3 separate regions of the Homo sapiens genome follow, and regions 1 and 2 are each linked to region 3. Evidence: promoter capture Hi-C in 16 types of primary human blood cells and fetal thymus (Javierre and others, 2016). All regions are on one chromosome and are shown on one strand. The core of a region is centred on a gene start or on the middle of the fragment in contact, and the rest is flanking DNA. Distances in the headings are between cores, read along the strand shown. Region 1 has its middle 15 kb from the start of PLSCR5. Region 2 overlaps PLSCR5 (phospholipid scramblase family member 5). Region 3 holds the start of LNCSRLR (lncRNA sorafenib resistance in renal cell carcinoma associated).

Region 1 (3,664 bases), core at 591-3,090, 550 kb after region 3:
CTATTTTGTAGTGCCTCAGTCTTCTTCCTTAATCCCTTTATCTATATATTCACTTCCTGGGTTATCTCGTCTAGTCTCGTGGCTTTAAATAAACTATACATGTTGACTGTTCCAATTTATATCTCTAGCTCAGGCTTCTGTTTTGCATTCTTTACTTGTATAATAACACTTCAAACTCAACAGGATGAAAACTGAACTCCTAATCTGCTTTACCCACCAAGTCCATGCCAACTGTATCTCTCCAGTTAGGCCAAATCTTGTGGCCATTGGTGACTCCCCTCTTTATCTCATACCTTATATTTTTACTTCTCTGCAGAGTTCATAGAAAAAAAAATCATATACCATATATTTTACATACAGAATCCCTTGGCTCTTCCTTCAAAATACATAAAGACTCCAACCAGTTCTCAGCACTCTACGACTTCCATCCTAGTCCAGTCGTAATATTTTGTTGCCTGTGTTATTGCAGTCATCTCATAAACAAACTTCTCATTTCTGCCCCTGTTCCCTACAGTTAATTCTCAAGATGACAACAAAATAGTTGAAACACACAACATAAAACAATCTTAAAGCTATTTCAAGATACACACCAATACATGCATCAAGTACATTAGTGTAAAGCAATACCTAAATAAGAGATGGTTCTGATAATGTTGAATTAAACAGGTTTGTGATTAACTCAATTTCTAGATCATATGCCCCCCAAAATTTTAAATGTAAAATAAATATAGCTGATTTTTAAAAAACCATCCAATCTGGTAATATACATATTCCAGTAGACAAGTATATAATATGTATATTACTTTTATATTTATTTCAATTTCTGATTTATTTGGGCTTATTTCTACCATCTTATTTTATATGTTGCATATTATTTTCCTGATTCATTTAAAAAAGTCACATTGTCTCCTTTTGAATTGATAAAGTTTTATTAATTCTTCCTCCTTATTTTCTTTTTCTTTCTTGGCTTGGAAGCTAAATGTTTTATTTGTATTCTTTTAGAGCCTCAACCTTACAAACTGATCATGCATATTTAATAAAGTCAAAAGTTGTTTTCCACAATCATATTTCTTAACAACATTTAAGTCTAAGTCTTACATATAGAATTTTTAGAGTTTATCATTAGCCTTTTAACCACAACATTACCATATCATTGGTGGTTATATTTGTCATGATGCTGTGTTTTCATGAAGGGTTCATGGGTTCATATTTTCTTAATTCAGGTGTATCTGAAAATTTCTGTTGCCTTTATACTTGCTTGGCAGATTGGTTGAGTATAGCATTCTTTGTTTACATTTCATGTCCTGTTACACTGTAGACTGTTCTATAGTCTCTGAATATTTATGTGGATGTCTGAAGACAATATGCATTCTCCACCTCATAAATGTCTTGCTTTTACTGCTTACATGACTGAAGAAGTCTATCTTTACCCTTGAATCTCAAGAGGTGGACTACTATATGTTAGATTTTTTTCTTAAGAAACTTTTTTGTCCCATCGATTGTGTTCTCTACTTAGCATACAAGGTTATTCTGGATTTTAGGTTTTACTTTTATTCCCTGCTCTTTGTCTATAGTTTTTTTTTTTTCTAGTTACTTTAATCACTTGGTCTTGTTTCTCTGCATTCACTTTATGGCCGCAAGGCTGTGTTATCTGTTCTACTTATGTTATTTAATATTATCTAGGTTACTTACTTTACCTGTTATTTTCCAATTATTTTTTAGTTCTTTAATACTGTTATTTCCCCTTCAGTTTTGCTCTTAGCTCTGTATTTTCACTTTAATCTGCTATTTTATTATTGTAAACTTAGTATACTGATACCTTGAATGTGTTTTCTGTAAGTTCTTTGCCAAGAAACAGTGCAATATTTTTCTTTATTTCATTAGGTAATATTTTTCTTCTAGAGTTGATTTTTTATTTCATTTTTGTAGTCCATTATTCCTTCCTACCTCCTTGGTCATTCGTCTTCCTCTTTCCTTCCTCTCTTTCTTTTATCTGTTTCTTTCTTTCTTTTTTATTCCTTCCTTTTATAATGGTATATTTGCAGTATTGACATGCTGCTTTCTTTTTTCTATATCATGGTCTTCTAATTGTTATGATGCAGTGTGGGTAAATTTTTCAACCTAATTTAAAATTCACAGAGCTTCAGTTTAACACTGCTATTTCACATTGCATTACTTTTACGTAGCCTAAGACCACAAAGTTTCAAGAGGAGAATTCAACCTAGGTTCTGTGATATTTTATATAAAGGATGTGTTTTCTGTGCTTCTTTTTCCATTTTTTTGTGAAATATATTGTATCAAGTCTCAATATACTAAGTTGGCTGTGCAGCTGCTTCTGTTCTGTGGTGGGCGCTCTTGCATTCAAAATAAAGTGGACCCTGGAGCCCACCTTTGCTCCTGAGGCGGTTAGCCTAGGTAATTCTCTCATCACTTCTTCCCGTAGCCATTTCCACACTGTCTCCTCACACTGGAATGAAACACAAGTAGAAACTGTTGCTTTTGATCACAAAATTTCAAGAATGACTGATCTATTGACTATGAGGTTAGAATTTGAAGGTTTAAGGCACTGCATAGTAGAGGGGACTGAGGTTGGCGTTACGATCCCAGCTAAATCAATGGCCTTTAGTGCACTCATTTCACCTTCTTCCCCTCTCTCAGAGGATTTGCATTTTTTTTTTTTTAATGCTTAGTCTTCAATTGCTTTGCTTTTCCAAGTTAACTCTGGGAAAGATCGTTCAATCCTTCTTCTTCTTCTTCTTCTTTTTCTTTTGAACATTCTTCCTTCTGAGAAAAAGCCCTGAAGATTGTTGAATATTTTTCCTGAGTCTTCTGAGGCTTGGGGGACTAAAGTATATAGAGCTTTGTCCACAATTTTTACCTGGACTGTCTACGCATCTCTTCAAGTTTATGTTTCAAGTTGAAAGAAAATGTTTTAAAATCATGGGATTCAAGGCATGCAGGACATTATTAAAATCATGCAGAATAGTGTTTCCTAATCAGTAGCTTAGGTAGTTTTTCAGTTTTTGTGTTATTTTTGATAGTGCGTACTGCTAGTTACTTGGTGAGAAGAAAAGCAATTTGCAACTAAAATGATGTACCTAAATTATGCAACTAGCTACAGAGATACACCCAACTCTAGTTTTCTAAATGCTCTTCTTACTATGCTTTCTATTACAACATAGTTTTTTGTCTATTAAACTCCATAAAATAATACAGAAATTTAAAAAATATGTATTTTAGTCTGGGTTCATTCACAAGGTAAGTTAAGTAATAGATTTTTAAGCTAATATTTAAAGTAGATTATAAACAATCTAATATACTTTAGCTAGTTAATCAGGAGCAAGAATTTTTGTCTGCAGATTCATACTGTTAAAAATGGAGATATTCTACCCAATATTTTAATGAAGAAGCAAAAGTTTCATTAATTTTCAAAGGTCTGTCTTGTGTCCAACCATCAATATGCTATTATTACTTCCAATGTCTCATTCCTCATGAGAAAAATATGTTTTCTTTTTTTAATCCTCTGTCACTTTCCAAATCATCATTTTTGAGAATATACCAATCAAAGGAAATTGTGATTCTTTGAGTCTTTCAGTGTACTCTTTGTAACCATGGAAACCAAGCCAAACTGTTACCAAGGTTACCTTTCTGAAGCTGTGATTTC
Region 2 (3,646 bases), core at 747-3,246, 530 kb after region 3:
GTTAAAATATTTTATTTAAATTTTTAAATTTAGAACATATTAATTGTATATTTCCTGTTTATTCATTGATTAATGTACTATTTCCAAATGTTCATTATTTTGTTTGATTTTTGTGGCTTTTAGGGAAAAGTTGGCATCTAAAAATTCATTTTATATTGTGTCTCTTCCAGACTCATGGCATAACAGTTTGGAAGTGCTCATTCATCCTTTTATATGTGCACTGCTTTAAAGTAAAGTAAATAAATGTTCTTTTAGTATAAAGTGAGGAAATTACCTTTCCCTTTAGAAGTAGAATATTCAACAATTGGTGGCATATTTTTCTTTTCTTGGAATGATTAACAAAGGTATATTTTTGGAAAATTTATTCCATTTTAGAACCAAAGCCAATGGGCTCATATCTCTACTTATTGAACACAACAAAAATGTATTCATGTCAAGCATCTGGCTCCGGGTGTGTCATCATTCATGAATGGAAGAAGAATATGTGATGACCATATGTGATCATCAAACCTCAGCCCTCTGGCACTGGTATATCACTTTTATACTTGGCAAAACCTTGTCTGACAACATTCCCAAACAGCTTGCAGCAGTTAATCAACTCTAGTCAGCTATTACAGCTGATCCTTTCTGCAGATGGAAGATGGTAGGTTTGCGTTTCCAGCTCTTTTACATATCTCCCTGAGCTCTCCAGTCTCTAAAGTACATTTGTCTGCCAGTGGGTTTCTGGAGAAGACATCTGCAATTATAAACATTTTCCCAGGAACATATGCTGCGTGCAGCTTAAACCCTATCAGGCATAACAGAAATCTCTTGTACCTTAAGGGAATTAACACAGAGATTTGATTTTGATAAAGGAGATAGACTTTATAGTTTGAAAGAATGCCAAACAAGCTGAAAATTGCAGCAGATGTGCTGACATCTCAATATTAGTGTAATTGTACTTCTAATCCTTTTTAGGATAAAATACAAAAGCAACAATAATATACATACATGAATAGCAATAGCTGAATTTTATATGCCATAAAATTCAGATAGTGATATTTTGATTGATTTATTATAAGGCTTGAATCCTGCCTACTTTACAATGACTAGAACAGTGACTATACCCAATAGCAATATGCTCTTTTAAGCAAATTGGCCTGGAGATGCAGTGGTATCAGCAGACAATGTTCACTTTATAACCGCTTTGTCTTGGATTTGTGTCCTCCTTTTGAGATTCAGTTGAAGACATTGAACTCAGCTCATTGTTGAAGTCTCTCTAGTACTTTGATCCTTAACAACCTCTCTCTCCTCTATACACCTGCACAAATTACAATAGTGTGTTTATCAGTCATTTGTACACAGGCTTGCACTTTGCATTAACTTTTTTTTTTTTTTTTGTCTTGCCAATTAGGTTGCAGAACTTTTGGGTAAGAGGGGCTAGGTTTCGTGCTTTTTATATGTCTCTAGTATAGCAAGCACTCGACAAATATTCTTTAAATAAATAGCTGTAGATGACTAGATATGTTAGAAAATTTCTTTTCTTTTCTTTTTTTTTTTTTTTCCAAGGCAAGTCTCACTCTGTCACCCAGTCTGGAGTGCAATGGTGAGATCACAGCTCATTGTAGCCTTGACCTTCCTGGGCTCAGGTGATCCTCCCACCTCAGCATCCCGAGTAGCTAGGACCACAGGCAAATGTCACCATGCCCTGATAATTTTTATAGAGACAGGGTTGTATCATGTTGCGCAGCCTGGTCTGGAACTCCTGGCTTATCCACATGCCATGGGCTCCCAAAATGCTGGGATTACAGGCGTGAGCCACCGTGCCTGGCATATTAGACAATTTCTTGAGCAAAAATTTACTGACACCTTGAACAATGAACAAGTGGATAAATATGCTAAACAGCTCCATCAAAAATATTTAGTCTCATCATTCTGTCAAATAAATAAGGAAGATAAAAGTAGTAATAAGATACACTTTTAAAAATAGTAGAAATAAATAAAGTTAATATTTTATAATTTTATGATTTATAATGCTTTTTTCATTTCAGTAAATTATTGGTTAAATTCTTTCAACCTTGATTGAAAAGCCAGAAAGAAAGTTTGTATTAATTTTAAGGGTAGAACATATCTGTAGTAATAGAAAGATAAAAACACCTGGCTTAAATATTCTAGACCAGGAGGGAGACTGACTGTTGGCAGGAAACTGCTTGGCAGAGGGAGACTCAGCTGCCATGCTTGGTTCCCTGGATTGGAAGAGGCAGGAAGGCTTTGGTCTGGGTCTGGAGCTCCAGGAAGAAAACCAGGCAGACCTCTTCTTTGGTTCTGGGCATCTGCAAGAGAATGGAAATCCCAATCCATATTTAAATTTAGGCCATTTTATTTAGTCCTTCTTAAAGTATTTGTTACTTCTTGATTGATAGGATAGTTTATCTCCTGCCTCTCATTTTAATGCCCTTTTCCTTCTTTTCACTACTCACTGCCATTATTACTTGTCCCCTAAGTTAGAAAAAACGAAACGCAGAAGACTGCTGGTAGTAGTTGTGAGAAAAAGTTGAATTTAGCCAAAATAAAAGACTTTAGAAAAAAATATGCATATGTGTATATGTATCTGTATATATATAATTACTTGCATATATATACTTACTGCATATATATTTATATGCATACATAAATTATATATTATATACATATATGAACCAAAATGTGGAGAGTAATTATCGGTTACTTTATACATATATAAATTATATATTATATAACTATATATAGGTATATACATACAAATCGATGTTACTTGAATAGATATGCAGTAATACATGTCTATATATTTATATATATACTTATTTTTATATATTTATATTTGTATAAGTCTATATTTATATAACCAATAATAGTTTGAAGCTATGCATCCTTTTGTAGCTCACCCAATATTACAAAATATAAAAGATATCATAATCAAAGAATTCTATAAAGTTTGACTAAAATTTTTAGAGAAGACATCTGTTTTCTATATTATTGCCAGGTAAATATGTTACCATTTTAATCATCTTTTATTTTGAAATTTGGGGGTTTGTTATTTACTTTGCATTACTCTGTGTAATTTTATGTATAACCCCTAATAAGGTGGTATATGCAAAAGTCGTTTTGTTTAAAAATATAAATGATAGCCTTTCTACTATTTTTTTCTTCTCACATAACTACCACTTGGATATCTCTCTCATTAGATATAATTTTTTTTTCAAAGAATATCAGTGTTTTTACTTCTCATGTTTAGTAATCAACAAAGTGTTAGAGATTTCACAAGTGCATTCAGTTAGTTTATCCACATTATGCTGTTTTAGATTGGGTATAGATGTGAAGCAAGGTTTGTGACAGGTATTTTCAAATATGAGAAGGGCCGTTATGAAGACAAGTAAATCAGATTGTCCTAAAGACATACAAAAGAGAGGGACAAGGAAATTGCTTCTGCATTGACAACAAGTAGGAAATTTATAACAGCTACACAAAGATTTGAATAAGTATTCTCATTACTCATATACCAAAATTGAAGCGGAATCCATATAATTAGCAGCAAATTACAATGTTCTCACTTCAGCAATGACTCTCAAATTCATGAATGTTTGTGTGTGGGGCAGGGGGGTGGTGAAGAAACATCTTTATCTTTTAA
Region 3 (4,143 bases), core at 1,567-4,066:
TAAGAATAAAACAAAAATATATCCATACATCTGTGGATGGACATTTAGGCTGTCTCCAAATCTTACCTATTGTGAACAGTGCTGCAACAAACACAGGAGTGCAGATATTGCTTCGGCACACTGATTTCTTTTTCTTCTGGGTATATATCAAGCACTGGAATTGCTGTATCATATGGCAGCTCCATTTTTAGTTTTTTTGAGGAACCTCCAAACTGTACTCCATAGTGGTTGTAATTAATTACATTCTCAACAGCAGTGGTCCCAATGTGGAGGGGTCCCTTTTCTCCACATCCTCTCAAGCATTTGTTATTGCCTGTCTTTTGAATATAAGACATTCTAATTAGGGTGAGATAATATCTCACTGTAGTTTTGATTGGCATTTCTCTGATGAACAGTGATGTTGCGTACATTTTTAAATGCTATTAGAAAGATTTAAGACTTATAAAGTTCACAAATCCCTAGCCTGTTTACTTACATTCCCAGTCTAATTTATTTTATCAAAATAATGTAATTATGCAATACTTCACATTTTTAAAGCATTTCTACATGTACAATTTTCTCTTCTCATTATTTCTTAGTGTACTTCTATTTTAATCCAAAACTCATTGCATTAAAAAGTTTTATACATTTCCCTATTTTTCTTCCCAATGGCTTTTTGTTAATAATTATTCTTAAATAATGCTGTGGCTTGCTATTCTAAAAGACCACAAAACAAACAGTTCTGTTTGATACACTGCTTTCATGAAGTCTTGAAGACTTCAATATTCCGCAACAGTTAACCTCTAGTCTAGTCAGAGGGAGTTATTTACACAGACTCAATTATGACTAAAAATTCTACTGGGCTCTTCTGAAACTTTAAGACATCTGTTGAATAACCATTCCAAATTCCAAATGAATGACAAGTTACCAGCATGTCATGTAAAATGGGCTTTAGGGCATAAAAAGCAAATAAATCAAGACATACGTATGTCAGACAGGAAAACAGAAGTGAGTACATAAAGAGATTCTGTGACGAGGATGGACCACTCAACTCATATGTTCATTGTTTTCCACATTTCTATTCCATAGAAGGATATTTGACCTCTTAGTTAAGTTACCAATACAGATAAATTACTAGTGTTTTCAAAGATGAAGCAGAATGAAGATTAATGCACTGGATGACTACTGAAGTATCTATATTAAGGAAAATATTCATATTGATTCCTATGCGCATTAAGAATTAGAAAAAATTCTACCACGGTGAGCATTTAAAGCACCTTGGTAATGTATGTATACACATACACACACATGCGCACACACACACGGTTACTATTGACATCCATATGCTTCCATTTATTCAAATTAGTTACGTGAATGTCTCCTTTTCCTTCTAGTCTTTTTTTCTTTAAACAATCAATATACAAATATATTTCTATAATATTTCAAAAACACAAGTGTAAAACGTAAAAGGCATAAATCCTATTTACTCCTCCGTGATCTCATACCACTCTCCAGAGTTGTTCCTCTCTAGGAAATTTTCTGTAGGTTTATGCACACATATATAGTATTTTGTTTTTAACATAAATGGTATCATACTCTAAATAGTGTGACTTTATCAGGTTCATCTGTCAGAGATATCTGATTGTTGCAGATACACAATAAGCCCTTGGACTACATGTGCTTAAACTACGCGGGCTCATGTGTATGCCGGTTTTTTCTGTCTCTGCCACCCCTGAGACACCCTTCCTCTTCCCCTTCCTTCTCAGCCTACTCAGCGCGAAGACAACAAGGATGAAAACCTTTATGATGATCCACTTCCACTTAATGAATAGTAAATATATTTTATCTTTCTTTATAATTTTTTAAATAACGTTTTCTCTAGCTTATTGTAACAATACAGTGTATAATGCATATAACATATAAAATAAATGTTCATCAGCTGTTTATGTTATCAGTGAGGCTTCCAGTCAACAGTAGGTTATTAGTTGATAAGTGTTGAGGGAGTCAAAAGGTACATGTGGATTTTCGACTGCATGGGGATCAGTGCCTCTAACGCCCATATTATTCAGGGGATAATTGTTTATATATATGGGTGTGTGTGTGTATTTTTTTTAAAAAGCCTTTATTATATTGCATAAAATGAATGAATCAAACAATAGATGTACTTTCTGTATCTTCTGCTCTGTGTGTTTCAAGCTGTATTTTTCTCCATCCTTCCAATTCTACTCGTTTTCCGTTTTTCAAATTTTTTAATCTACTTATGGGAATTTTTCTAATTTTCTCTCAGTAATTATGAATCATCTTTTTAAAGCTACATTTTATATTATTTCATGGAATGTAGGATAAGAGGAAAGACAAAAAAACTGTGCTCAATAGACTACCTGGATCCCATTTCTGAAAACATGGCATGAGACTGAAATAGTTATGCTAAGTAACCACCCATGGATACCAAAATGGAAAATAACTAGTACCTGGGAGATGTCTTTGAACTGTACCACAAGAGATATTAAGCTGGCTTGCACTGGTAGGAACGAACCGATCTGCTTTTATAACCAGAGTCTGTTCCGATGAGTTGGCATCTACATCATACCAGGTGTTACATATTTTGAAAACCATTCCTGATGTACAGTAACATAATTCACAAATCATTACTAAAATGTCTCCTTATCCTAGTTGATGGATAGTAGAAATTTTCTTTGGGTATTAAGTGTCGCCAAAGAAGAGAACAGGAGTAGAACCAACTTCCTTATCTTTTTAAGTCCATCTCACAGTGACTATAATGTCTTCTTCATCAACATATCCTTGGTGCCTGGAACAGTGCCTGACCCATAATAGAGACCCAGAAAATATTAATAAACAAATAAACCTATATTGAATAACATTTGGCTTCTATTTTCTCACTTGGAAAACGAGTTAGATCAAATCCCTAGTCATCCTAAAATTGAAGATTTTATAATTTCATTTATAATTCAATAGTTTCGTATATCATTAAATCTACTAAGCAAAATGAAAAATCAAAGGCTTCATTCTTTCAGACAATTCCATCATGTATTCACGTTGGAAGATAAACACCAATAATAGAACAACAAAACTTTCTAAAATTATTTTATTTTTTATAATTTTCTAACACATGGTGTTAGAAAATGAATTTTGGCACCGTGATTAAGAATTTCTTTTCAAGTTTAACCTTTACATTAAAAACAGTAGCTACAATAAGGATATTTCAACCTTACTTAGAGAAGTGATAAAACATCAAGTCAACAAGTATTTTTGTTGGAGAATTTTTTTATAAGCGGGATAGAGGGAAGTTAACATAGACACTCAGAAGAATAAAATGGAAATTATGCCAGGAAGATAAAAAAGCAAATAACCCTCCCCCCAAAAAAAGAATAAGGAGCGAGACAAAGGGCAAAACGGAAGAAGCAAGGCTCAACAACTTTGTTTTCCTGATATAAAATTCAAGTACTTAAAAAGTTTTTTAAAAAATAATTAAATGCACTACTCATCTCAATGAAATTTTTCGTTTTCCTATTTTCTAGAACTTTCTAAAAAAGGAAACAAAGCAAAAACAACAACAAAAAAAACCTGTTTGACTTAAGGACACTTGCTGATCTTGACACTTGATAATACTTTAAGAAATGGAAAGGTTTTCCTAAATCTAATACCTGCTTAATATAATCCACTTTGGAAGATTCATCTGAAAGAAACATAGGGTTTGATTTTTAATACTAATATAAAATAATCTGCCTTCCAATCAAAACAAAAATGTTTTCAACTGTATACGCTCCTCGGTTGTGTTTTGTACCATTTTCTTGAGGAAAACGTTGTGTAATTCTTTGTGTGTTCCCTTAGTAACTACTGTAAATAAGACCTGCATAGGTGTTCAGAAAAATACTTAGTTGCATACAAATCCAGTTAGAATCTGATTTTCAAGGTTTTACAACATGGTAATTTTCATTTATATCCATTTTGTCTACATTTCCTCTATATTTTGATAAATAAAAATCTTCCCATGCTTTTTTTAAATAAGAAAATATTATTAGTCTTGTTATTTGTACCTAAATATTTTATCAATTTGAAACACAAATTCATAAATTGTCATTATTCTCAGAGGCAACAAAGCATAGAAATAAATATTTAAGTTTTTTCTTTCTTTTCTTCTTC

What was found. The method cuts DNA at HindIII sites, captures the fragments that hold promoters and counts their contacts. A CHiCAGO score of 5 or more calls a contact.
Region 1: a fragment that was not itself captured here is called in contact with the fragment with the promoter of LNCSRLR in region 3 in 2 of 17 cell types (M1 macrophages and M2 macrophages); the score reaches 5.6 in M1 macrophages.
Region 2: a fragment that was not itself captured here is called in contact with the fragment with the promoter of LNCSRLR in region 3 in 4 of 17 cell types (M2 macrophages, neutrophils, monocytes and 1 more); the score reaches 10.8 in M2 macrophages.

What each region holds. Positions count from the first base shown.
Region 1 is chr3:146,618,307-146,621,970 of GRCh38, forward strand. No RefSeq gene overlaps it. Among named protein-coding and RNA genes, the nearest start is that of PLSCR5, 15 kb to the left of the region's middle. The HindIII fragment of the contact is 4,176 bases long and covers 1-3,664 here.
Region 2 is chr3:146,598,152-146,601,797 of GRCh38, forward strand. It overlaps PLSCR5 (phospholipid scramblase family member 5), which reads right to left. Exons shown (of 8, transcript NM_001085420.2): 2 at 2,137-2,312. Among named protein-coding and RNA genes, the nearest start is that of PLSCR5, 5.4 kb to the right of the region's middle. The HindIII fragment of the contact is 6,456 bases long and covers 1-3,646 here.
Region 3 is chr3:146,066,369-146,070,511 of GRCh38, forward strand. LNCSRLR (lncRNA sorafenib resistance in renal cell carcinoma associated) reads right to left here and starts at 2,817. Exons shown (of 2, transcript NR_146297.1): 1 at 2,451-2,817; 2 at 1-317. It overlaps PLOD2 (procollagen-lysine,2-oxoglutarate 5-dioxygenase 2), which reads right to left. Exons shown (of 20, transcript NM_182943.3): 20 at 3,072-4,143. The HindIII fragment of the contact is 7,145 bases long and covers 1-4,143 here.